Regions from separate parts of the Homo sapiens genome. Here region 2 is linked to region 1. The links are contacts of gene promoters, found by promoter capture Hi-C in human tissues and cell types (Jung and others, 2019). All regions are on one chromosome and are shown on one strand. The core of a region is centred on a gene start or on the middle of the fragment in contact, and the rest is flanking DNA. Distances in the headings are between cores, read along the strand shown. Region 1 holds the start of CORO7 (coronin 7). Region 2 overlaps MGRN1 (mahogunin ring finger 1).

Region 1 (5,852 bases), core at 1,003-3,502:
CCCCACCCAAGGGGAGGCAGAGGAGCACGTTTCTGAAACTAAGATCTGCAAGGTCCACACATTTTCTCTGTTGTCAAAGCACCGCTCAGCACTCCTTCCTGCCCTCGATGACAGGACACCCATGTTTCCCACTCCACCCACCCATAGCACCCCGGAAACCACCTCCACCACCTGAAGTTTCTATATCAGTGTTCACCTGCCATGGTTACAGCATCAGTCCCACCCTATTATTTCTCCCTCCTGATTCATGTTTACTGTATAAACACAGTGACTGCAAATATCTCTGAAAAGAACAGATCACCTGTTCTCCCGCCTCCCTAACATAAACTGTTTTAAGCTCTCCCTACAGTCTGTAGTTCCATGCCTATCTGTTTATGTTGCTGGACTAAGGCCCACCCAGGAGCAAGAATTAGGGCCCCTCAAGTATTCTCCAGACCCCTCCAAGCAGTACTTAACTGCACTCAGAGCCACCGGCTGTCTTGATGCAAACCTAGGTACCTCCTCCTAACTTTTCTTGTTTGTTTTTTTCTTTTTTTGAGACAGTGTCTCACTCTATTGCCCAGGCTGGTGTGTAGTGGCACAATCTCGGCTCACTGCAACCTCCACTTCCTCGGCTCAAGAGATCCTCCAACCTCAGCCTCCCAAGTAGCTGGGACCACGGGAGTGAGTCACCACACCTGGCTAATTTTTTTTTCTTTAACTTGTTGTTCAGAGGGGTTTCGCAATGTTGCCCAGGCTGGTCTCGAACTCCTGAGCTCAAAGCAGTCCACCCAAAGTACTGGGATTACCGTGAGTCATGGTATCCAGCCCCTCCCCCTAACTTTTCAATGGCTCTGCACTGCAATCAGAATAAAACCCAACTTCTTCCGGTGGCCCTTGGGTTCTGCAGGACCACTCTGGACTCATCTGTCACCATACTGCTCCGGCCATCCCCTCCATCCACTCATGCTCACTTTCCATTTCTCCACCAGGCTCTTTCTCAATTCTCACCCTTCTGGCCTCAGCTAAAATGCCATCTACTCCAGGCAGCCTTTCCTGACCACGCTACTGAGACTGGCCCCCTCCATTCTCCATCCCAGTCCCTCATGTGTGTTCTTCAATGTCGTTATGAAAACCTCCAATGCTCTTGTTTGTCTGCTTGCTGTCTCCCTCATGAGGCTACAAGTGCCACAGGGGAAGGAAAATGCCGTTGTGTTCACCGGGATGTCTCCAGCAGCTTAGCACAGCATAAAGTGGAAGCAGAGGAAATATAGTCCACACTACAAAAACGGAACCTCTACCCAGACTGCCCTGACTTGCTCTGGGACCCTGATGGGGTCACTTGAGGTCAACTCCTAGGCCCAGTTATCGGAGGACACTCCCAGGCCTTACAAATAACACGGAAAGCGGAAGAGCAGAGCTGACATCGTTTCCAAGGCGCACCCCTCATCAGTCCTCCTGCCGTTTCGGGGGTCCGAAGGGTCTCCCGGCACCTGGCTCAGCAATTCTTTGGGGCTCCACCTGCTCAGGCTTCCCCAGGCCCCACCCAGCCGTGGCAGCATCACCGAGATAAAGAAAGAGCTTGCGCCAGCGGCGAGAGGAGGAAGCACCGGCGGAAACCCGAGGGAGGGGCGCGTGCGGCCGAGGGGCTCCCTCCCCACCACTGACACACTTGGGCTCGCCGGGGCCAGAGGAGAGAGGGGCGTCTCCCCACAGCCCAGCCAGGGGCAGGGGCGACCCGGGGCGGCAGGGAGGAGGAGCCAGGCGCCGGCAGCGCCCCGAGCCCCGGCTCCCGGCGAGGCCGACCGGAAGCTGGGAAGGCAGGCGGCCTCGCAGGCCTGGGCCCCGGCTAGGAGGGCTGCGCCGCCTCGGGGGTCCCGGGGCGAGGTGGGCGAGGCGGGCAGACCGCCAGGGTCACCGAGCGCCAGAGCGAGTCACGGGAGTGCCGGACTCTGCCCTCCGGCGGCGACGAAACGGCCCGGACGCCGGGGCCCTGGCCTGAAGGGGGGTTCCCCGGGGATGGAGGTCTCGGGGTTCCAGACGGCCCTGGAGGGCACCCCTGTGGGGTCCGGGCAGGGGGAGGGGCAGCCGGACGGGGCCCGAGGCGACAGCGCCCGGTCCTCGGGCCGGACTCACCTCGCGGCGGGGCGGCCGAGCCTCGGTGTGCCGGAACTTGGACACCCTGAAGCGGTTCATGGCGACGGGCACGGCGGCGGACGCGTCTTCGAGGACCCCGGGCGTCGGGTCTCAGGTGCACGCTGAGCAACCGCGACTCCCGCTGCCTCGGCCCCACCCGGGACCCAATGCCGCGGTCACGCCCCCGGCGCGCCCCACTGCCAATCGCAGCCGTCTCCGGCCCCCTGGGCCACGCCCCCAAGCCCCTCTCCTTTCGCGCGCGCACCACCGGTCCCGCCTCCCGGCCAATCCAGGTACGGCCGCCCCGCGAGGCCACGCCCTGATACCGAGGGGACGGACTGGCGCGGGTGGGAGGTCACGTGGGGCGCAGCTGTCAGCCCACGTCTCCTGCGGTGCTTGCTTGCGTGGGGTCTCGGCTGCAGCATTCGCGATTTTGTGTGCAGGATTTGCTGTGGAGTCTTTGCGGTGTACCTAGCACGCCTTCCAGCACTATCTACCTCTTCCTGTAGAGAGGGGAGAAATTAGCTCCATTTCAGAGACAGGAAACCCCCGGCTAAAGGAGAGTGTAAACTGTCGGTCCCCAGGTCACACCAGTGGTAAGAGGCAGAGGGGGAACAGGGGCCCAGGTCTAAAGCAAATCCCTGTCCACCGGGCCTACTCAAAAGCCTCTGCATCCGGCCAGGCGCTCTGCATCCGGCCAGGCGCGGTGGCTCAGGTCTGTAATCCCGAACTTTGGGAGACTGAGGCAGGAGTATCCCTTGAGCCCAAGAGGTCGAGGCTGCAGTTATCTGTGACCGTGCCACTGCACTCCAGCCTGGGAGACAGAAAGAGACCCTGCCTCTAAAAATAATAATAATAATAGCTTTTAATTTTTCTTTAGTATTTATTCATTTATTTGACACGGAGTCCCTGTCACCCAGGCTGGAGTGCAGTGGCGCGATCTCAGCTCACTGCACCCTCTGCCTCGCGGGTTCAAGCAATTCTCTTGCCTCAGCCTCCCGAATAGCTGGGATTACAGGCGCCTGCCACCGCGCCCAACTAATTTTTTATTTTTAGTAAGAGACGGGGTTTCACCATGATGGTCAGGCTGGTCTCGAACGAGACTCAAGCAGTCCTCCCAACTTGGCCTGCCAAAGTGTGGGGATTATAGGAATGAGCCAACGCACCCAGCTGATTCTTGCATTTCTAAGGTTTGAAAAGCAATGCTTACATTTTATCTTAGTTCGGGCAGAAGTGTATTTACTGTGAACCAAAGTCACTTGTGGTTTATTGAAAAGGCTTTTTGTTTGTTTGTTTTGAGACAGAGTCTCACTCTGTTGCCCAGGCTGGAGTGCAGTGGTGTCATCTCAGCTCACTGCAACCTCCACCTCCTGAGTTCAAGCGATTCTCCTGCTTCAGCCTCCCAAGCAGCTGGGATTACAGGTGTGCGCCACTACTCCTAATTTTTGTATTTTTAGTAGAGATGGGATTTTGCCATGTTGGCCAGGCTGGTCTCAAACTCCTGACCTCAAGTGATCCACCTGCCTCAGCCTCCCAAAGTGCTGGGATTAGAGGCATAAGCCACTGCGCCCAGTCCAAAAAGGTTTTTAGAAAATCATCAGGTTGGCCGGGCGCGGTAGCTCACGCCTGTAATCCCAGCACTTTGGGAGGCCAAGGTGGGTGGATCACCAGGTCAGGAGTTCAAGACCAGCCTGGCCAAGATGGTGAAACCCTGTCTGTCCTAAAAATATAAAAATTAGCTGGGCGTGGTGGTGGGTGCTTGTAATCCCAGCTACTTGGGAGGCTGAGGCAGAGAACTGCTTGAACCCGGGAGGCGGAGGTTGCAGTGAGTCGAGATCGTGCCATTGAACTCCAGCTTGGGTGACAGGGCGAGACTCTGTCTCAAAAAAAAAAAAAAAAAGAAAAAAAAAGAAAATCATCAAGTGGCTGGGCATGGTGGCTCACGCCTATAATCCCAGCACTTTGGGAGGCCGAGGTGGGTGGATCACCTGAGGTCAGGAGTTCAAGACCAGCCTGGCCACCATGGTGAAACCCCGTCTCTACTAAAAATACAAGGCGTGGTGGCAGGTGCCTGTAATCCCAGCTACTCGGGAGGCTGTGGCAGGAGAATCACTTGAACCCGGGAGGTGGAGGTTGCAATGAGCCGAGATCATGCCATTGCACTCCAGTATGGGAGACAAAAGCGAGATTTTGTCTCAAAAAAAAAAAGAAAGAAAGAAAATCATCAGGACAGTGGTCCCACTGGATCCTAGGCGACCGAGGCACAGCTCATCATCCCCTTTCATAGGGAACTGCACCTGCTACAGACATCACAGACCAGAACATCTGGACCACACATTCCTCACCCACTTGGAATTGTCCTATACTCTGTGTGAAGTAAAGAAAATGCTATACTTAAGACAAATCATGCCCCTGAAGAGCTGGGCTCAGGCTCTTCTGCCCTCTGTAAAAGATCTCTGAGCTCACATGGGAGAGTTGCAGCCATTGGCAGCCATGAACTTGGCCAGTCCCATTATACTTCAAATGATCAGTGGTTTCAGCAAGAAATCACAGAGACCGTCTTGTCTCCCATTGCCTTCAGCCCAGCACTGTCGGGGAGCACCATTAAACCCCTTCGCAGCTCTCACAGATATCCACAGCTCAGGAGATGGGGAAAGTGCTCTGTGGAATTGCTGGTCTAGTGAAATGAAAGTGTGGAGGGGGAAACGCTTACGACTTTGTGTTCCCTTTGCAAGTAACATTTGTTTCTCCTTTTTTTTTTTTTTTTTTTTGAGATAAAGTCTCTGTTGCCAAGGCAGTGCAATGGTGTGATCTCAGCTCACCATAACCTGTCTCCTGGATTAAAGTGATTTTCCTACCTCAGCCTCCCGAGTAGCTGGGATTACAGGTGCATACCACCATGCCTGGCTAATTTTTGAATTTTTAGTAGATATGGGATTTCGCCATGTTGCCCAGGCTGGTCTCAAACTCCTGAGCTCAGGCTGTCTGCCCACCTCGGCCTCCCAAAGTGCTAGGATTACAAGCGTGAGCCACTGTGCCCGGCCTGTTTCTCCTTAAAGCTCACATTTTTGAGCTTCTGCCTGGAGAACACGGGATCATATTCTGACTGGCACTGAGGATAGGTGTAGCTTGTGGCTTCTGCAGTCTTTGGCAACAAGCCTGGGATGGATCCATTTGTGTCCAGTTGCAGCAGAAGTCCTTGAAAGGCAGGGCAGCAGTTTGTACCCATGGTAGTAATAAATGCTTGCCCTGCCTCTCTTTTGTTGTGAAAAGCAAATGAAAATAAGCATGAGAAAGTACTTCAGAAACTCCCAAGAGCCATATGCTTGGGAGATACTGATCGCAATGACGATTGATAGGCACGTGGTTTAAAGGAAAAACACACAGTTTTGTTGTGAGAAGACCTGGGCTTGGGTCTTCATTCACTCACTTACTAGCTGTGTGGCCTTGGACAAGTCTTTTCATCTTTCAGAGCTTATTTTATTGTTGTTTTTTTTCTTTGTGGGCGGGGTGGTGTCCGTTTGTAAAAATGGGAATAGTCCTCCCGCTACCTACCTCATAGGGTTGGGCTCATATCAAAATAGAAAACAAAGCCAGGGAACAGTGGCTCATGCCTGTAATCTCAGCAGTTTGGGAGACTGAGGCGGGCAGATCACTTAAGGTCAGGAGTTCGAGACCAGCCTGGCCAACATGGCGAAACCCCGTCTGTACCAAAAATACAAAATTAGCTGGGTGCA
Region 2 (5,534 bases), core at 1,178-3,677, 240 kb after region 1:
GTCCCGCTGCTACCAGAAAGGCTAGAGAGAGCAGAGAGGGTGCCCTGCCAGCCCTGGCTGGTGTCACCCTCTCCTAGACCCCTGCGGGCTAGTGATGAGAGAAATGCCACAGTCCCCCCCTCTCAGGACCTGGCACAAGGCCAGCTTCCCCTCCCAGCAGGAATCACAGAGCAGGAACAGCTCCAGTGCCACTGTCCCCCTCTGTCAGGACCTGGTACGAGGCCTGCTTCCCCTCCCAGCGGGGATCACAGAGCAGGAACAGCTCCAGTGCCACTGTCCCCCTCTCTCAGGACCTGGTACGAGGCCTGCTTCCCCTCCCAGCAGGCATCACAGAGCAGGAACAGCTCCAGTGCCACTGTCCCCCTCTCTCAGGACGCGGTGCAAGGCCAGCTTCCCCTCCCAGCAGGGATCACAGAAAAGGACCTGGAGGCTCCAGGACCTGGAGGCTGTGCCCAGGCACCCGGACACCATCCAGCCTGCCAGTGCTCCATCCATTTGAGCTGCAGGGCAAGCCACCCTCCCTGCCTCCTGACAAGGAAACTGAGGCTCAGACAGAGGGGTGTGTCCAGGCCTCCGCATCTCACAGGAGAAGGCTGGGGTCCACCTGAGGGTGGCGTCTTAACTGTGCCTTTTACTGAGGCTGAGCCCGGGCCTCCCCTGTAGTGCCTCCAACCATGCTGGGCTCTGGCGGCCATGGCAGGCCTCTTCTGCCTTTGTGTGTACAGTGGTGGCCCCCCCACGCCCCATCCCATTTCTGAGCTTGGTGTGCCTTTGTCCAGGAGAGCCTGTGGAGCCCTGGCCACAGGCAAGCAGGGCGGTGGGGTGGAGGGGAGGGGCTGTGGATTGTGAATTGGGTTCCTGCATGGAGTTTTATCAGAAATGAAACTGCTTGAGGCACCTGTCTTAGGGATGCACTCGTGCCTGTGGCTAAGACATGCAGAAGGGCGGTCCTTGAAGCAGTGTTGGGAAAAGTGAGATGTTGGTGACCATCTGCTGGTGTCCCCCAGGGGCCCTGACTGAATCAGTAAAACCAAAGCGGGACCTGTGTGGTGGTTCACAGGACACAGCCCCTGATGTGTGCAGACGCATGAAAGAGCAGTGTTGACGCCTACCCCGTCTGAACGTTGAGGAAGAGAGACCCGCGCTGCATGTGGGCACCATTGTGCCTCCGCCTTCCGGGAGTGATCTGTGGGTCTCTGCTGGGGCGGACAGCAGGCCTCTGGGAGCAGGCGTGAGGGTTGGGGAAGATGCATTTTGCACTGTGTATACTTAAGTACTGTGTTCATTTAAAAAGTAAACTCAAGCTGGGTGCAGTGACTCAGGCCTGTAATCCCAGCACTTTGGGAGGCTGAGGCAGGTGCATCACTTGAGGTCAGGAGTTCGAGACCAGCTTGGCCAACATGGTGAAACCCCATCTGTACTAAAAATAAAATATTAGCCTAGCATGGTGGCGCACACCTGTAATCCTAGCTACTTGGGAAGCTGAGGCAGGAGGATCACTTGAACTCAGAAGGCAGAGGTTGCAGTGAGCTGAGATCACAACACTGCACTCCAGCCCAGGCGACAGAGCGAGACTCTTATCTCAAAAATAAATAAATAAATAAATAAATAAATAAATAAATAAATAAATAAACAAACCAACTTAGCACCGATGGAAAGGAAAAGCACAGCTACACTGGGGAGGTATCAAAGGGATTGGGCAGGTGTGGGCTCTGGGAGAATTGTAGCCAGGCCTGACCTGGGGAGAGCTGCATGGTGAGCAGAGAGGCCGTGGAAGGCCCTGGAAGGGTGAGGGCCACGTGGCCATGTAGGCTGTTTGCTGTTCCCCATGAGAGAGGGTCCCCAAAAGACAGGTGTCTGCGGCCCTTCCAGCTGTCGGAGTGGGAGGGACGGGCACGGAGGGCCCTCTTCCTGCCGCAGCCTCACTGCTTGCTCCTGGCTCCCTGCAGATACAGCCCCAAGAGCCCCTCGCTACAGTCCGAGACCGTCCACTACAAGAGAGGGGTGAGCCAGCAGTTCTCCCTGCCCTCCTTCAAGATTGACTTCTCGGAATGGAAGGATGACGAGGTAATGCTGGCTGGGCGGCTCCTTGCCCTTCGCTCCTCCTGAATTCTCTCCCCTTGGGGGTGGGGCCAGCACAGTGGGGTCTGTGTGTTTGGCTTCCTCCAGGGTTCATAAGACCTGGGAACGGCCGCCCCAGTCTGTGCTCAGGTGGACGTGTGGATGGGCGGGAGCAAGGCCTGGGCCATGTGCTGATGGGGCCAGGGGACCAGAGGCCGACCAGGCAGCCGCACTCGGAGGCTCAGACACTGGGGTTTGGGGAGATGTGAAGAATGGGGCACCCCCTGCCAGGCTGCAGCAATGCAGGGTCTGTTCACACCAGGTGGCATTCCTTCAAGCTTTTTAACCTTACTTTTGTTTAAAATCTTGGTGCAGACATCCTTTTTTTTTTTTTTTTTTTTTTTTTTTGAGACAGTCTCGCTCTGTCGCCCAGGCTGCAGTGCAGTGGCGCGATCTCGGATCACTACAACCTCTGCCTCCTGGGTTCACAGCATTCTGCCTCAGCCTCCCGAGTGGCTGGGACTACAGGCGCCTGCCACCACGCCCGGCTAATTTTTTGTATTTTTAGTAGAGACGGGGTTTCACCGTGTTAGCCAGGATGGTCTTGATCTCCTGACCTTGTGATCCGCCGGCCTCGGCCTCCCAAAGTGCTGGGATTACAGGTGTGAGCCACCGTGCCCGGCCATTGCTGCAGACCTCTTTTAACCAGGTCTTTTGTAGGTTGCGGCTTGAGTGGCTGCTTTGCTAGTTGCTCCTCCTAGGCCCCTCTCCAGCTTTTAGTCAAAGCTGTGTCCTCCCTCCTTCCCCCTTTGCCTTGTTTTCCAGCGTCCATCTGGTCTGCAGCTTGCAAAGACCCTGGTCCAGGGGGTTCCTGTGTAACAGTACAGACCTTGTGTGGCCGGGCGCGGTGGCTCATGCCTGTAATCCCAGCACTTTGGGAGGCCGAGGCAGGCGGATCACGAGGTCAGGAGATCAAGACCATCCTGGCTAACACGGTGAAACCCCGTCTCTACTAAAAATACAAAAAAATTACCCGGGTGTGGTGGCGGGCGCCTGTAGTCCCACCTACTGGGGAGGCTGAGGCAGGAGAATATCATGAATCCAGGAGGTGGAGCTTGCAGTGAGCCGAGATCACGCCACTGCACTCCAGCCTGGGCGACAGAGTGAGATTCCGTCTCAGAAAAAAAAAAAACAATGTAGACCTTGTGGGTCCCAGGTCTGAGGCCAGGAGGAGACACTGACCACATGCCCTGCTAGCAGGCCTCATGAGCTGACTTACGCTGGGGCCAGTCCTGTGGCTGTGTTCCTGACGTTTAGCCACTCTCTGTAAAAAGCCTCCCTTGTCCTTGCATTAAAAATAAAACAAGCCAGGTGTGGTGGCTCTCGCCTGTAATCCCAGCACTTCGGGAGGCTGAGGTGGAAGGATCATTTGAGGCCAGGAGTCTGAGACAAGCCTGAGTAAAACCTTGTCTCTATGAAAAATACAAAAATTAGCTGGATGTGGTGGTATTTGCCTGTAGTCCCAGCTACTGAGGAGGCTGAGGTGGGAAGATCGCCTGAGCCTGGGAGATGGAGGCTGCAGTGAGCCATGATCGTGCCAGCGCACTTCAGCCTGGGTGACAGAGCGAGACCCTGTCTCAAAAGTAAGACTACCTGGGAGTGGGGGACCACCAGGTTGTCTAAGGAGGGGTGAAAACCGAACAGATCAAAACTCCCATGCTGATCAGTAGTGGGATTGTACCTTGGAATAGCCACTGCAGTCCAGTCTGAGCCACATAGCGAGACTCCATTTCTTAGGAAGGTAAAAAAAAAATAAAAATAAAAATAAAATAAAAGTAAAATAAACGTCTCCCCAGACTCCCTCGGGTGGGTGGAGTCTCTGTCCTCTCCCGGCATCACTGGCGTGGACCCTGCACCCTGCTCTCACGTGTGACTGTGGGTGCTGTGTGGCGTGTGTGCTGAGCTCTGGGGAGTGGGAGTTTGGGAGGTGTCTGTGTTTCCTGTTTGTTTCATGTTTCCTGGGGTCCCTCCCCAGCCCCTCTGGGGAGCCCCAGTCTCCGAGCCCTGTGAGCCATGGGTTTGCAGGTGAGGTGGCCGGGGTAGGGGAGTGGTCATTGTGGCCAGCTTCCTGAGGGGTACGGTGTTTAGGGCCCAGAGAGGGTTGGAATCACGATGCCCCCAGTTGTCCTTACCTCTGTCCCGGACTTGGCACTGGACCCGCCAGGGGGCCTTTGGTGAGGGTTTGCTGAGGAAGCTGAAGGAGGGCCCGCGTGCAGCATAGTGCTGGCTCGTCTGTGGATGGCCACGCTGAGTTGGCGCACATAAGGGGCAGCTGCTGCTGCGGGGCCTTCAAGGTGCTATCCTTGTCAGGACTTTTGTGGATGCAAGTGACAGAAAAACATTTGGTCTGGTTTAAGAAAAGAAAACCAGAGACTTACTGGTGTAGATTCAGAGAAGGCTGGGTGGCCTGAGATTTCTTCCAGGGCCTGTGTCATCAGGGTGGGGATCTCTGTGGCTTAGCCTCCCATCTCCCTCAGCTGGCCCTGCTCCAGCGCGTGGCCATCCGGCTGGGTCCGGAGATGCTTGGAGGCCGTGTGTCTTCTCTTTGTGGCCCCATTTGGGGCGGGGGCCTCCCGTCCTGCAGCCAGGCCGCAGAGACCTGGAGTAGGAGGGAGACGCTTCCCCGAAGAGAACCTGAGGGGCTCAGATGCTGGGCCAGGCATGGCTTAGCATCAAGAGCGCAGCTGCAAGGACAGGCCACAGGGGTGCCCAGCATGGCTGCACTGGCCTTGCCCAGGAGCAGAGAGGACATGTGTGGAGGGGCTGGGGGCCCACTTTCGTTCTGCCGCTTTTTCTCTCTAGAGTGTTAGGCCAGTTCTGCAGCTCTGTGAGCCTGGGTTTGCCCCTCTGTAGACTGGGGCTGGAAGCAGTCCCTCGCAGGGTGGCCACGAGGGGTCCGTGATCAGCATGCAAAGGGCTTTACCTGGAGCCGCCCACTGTAAACCCGTCTGCCAGCCGGGGAGTGGGAGAGAAGGCTATAGCCACCATCTTGCACGCCTCCCCAGACCGTTGGTTTTTATTCCACACCAGTAAAGCACTGTCAGCACCTAGTTTCTGCAGTGTGATGAGAAAAAAAATCACAGCTCACTCAGAGGCTCCTCAGAGCACAGAGCGGCCCACGCCAGTGCTGAGGTGCTGGCTGCGCGGATGCATTCCAGGCCTGGGCAGAAGCGAAGGGGTGGGCAGGGGCGCGGGGGTGGATGCGCTCCAGAAAGCTCTGCCTCCCCCGTTTGGCTCCATCACCTAAAGGAGTGGCTGCCGGTGCGCGAACTCCCCATTTCCGGGCTTCATGACAGCCCTTGTGGCAGCAGTGTGGGAGCGTTGCCAGGCAACCCTGGGACGATGACTCCTGTGTGGACTCAGTGGAGTGGGCAGGAAACAGGCTCACAAGGGGCCTACAGTCCCAGCATGAT

What was found. Contacts are between HindIII fragments. The study calls those that stand out against the background at their distance.
Region 2: a contact is called between a fragment that was not itself captured here and the fragment with the promoter of CORO7 in region 1, in 1 of the 25 tissues and cell types used here (pancreas).

Annotation. Positions count from the first base shown.
Region 1 is chr16:4,414,344-4,420,195 of GRCh38, forward strand. CORO7 (coronin 7) reads right to left here and starts at 2,253. Exons shown (of 28, transcript NM_024535.5): 1 at 2,116-2,253. The coding sequence starts at 2,175. It overlaps CORO7-PAM16 (CORO7-PAM16 readthrough), which reads right to left and starts at 2,253. Exons shown (of 31, transcript NM_001201479.2): 1 at 2,116-2,253. The coding sequence starts at 2,175. LOC124903635 (a long non-coding RNA gene) reads right to left here. Exons shown (of 3, transcript XR_007064963.1): 3 at 2,382-2,618. The HindIII fragment of the contact is 38,450 bases long and covers 1-5,852 here.
Region 2 is chr16:4,655,297-4,660,830 of GRCh38, forward strand. It overlaps MGRN1 (mahogunin ring finger 1), which reads left to right. Exons shown (of 17, transcript NM_015246.4): 5 at 1,950-2,067. Among named protein-coding and RNA genes, the nearest start is that of MIR6769A, 13 kb to the right of the region's middle. RefSeq lists a silencer at 5,312-5,534. The HindIII fragment of the contact is 6,147 bases long and covers 1-5,501 here.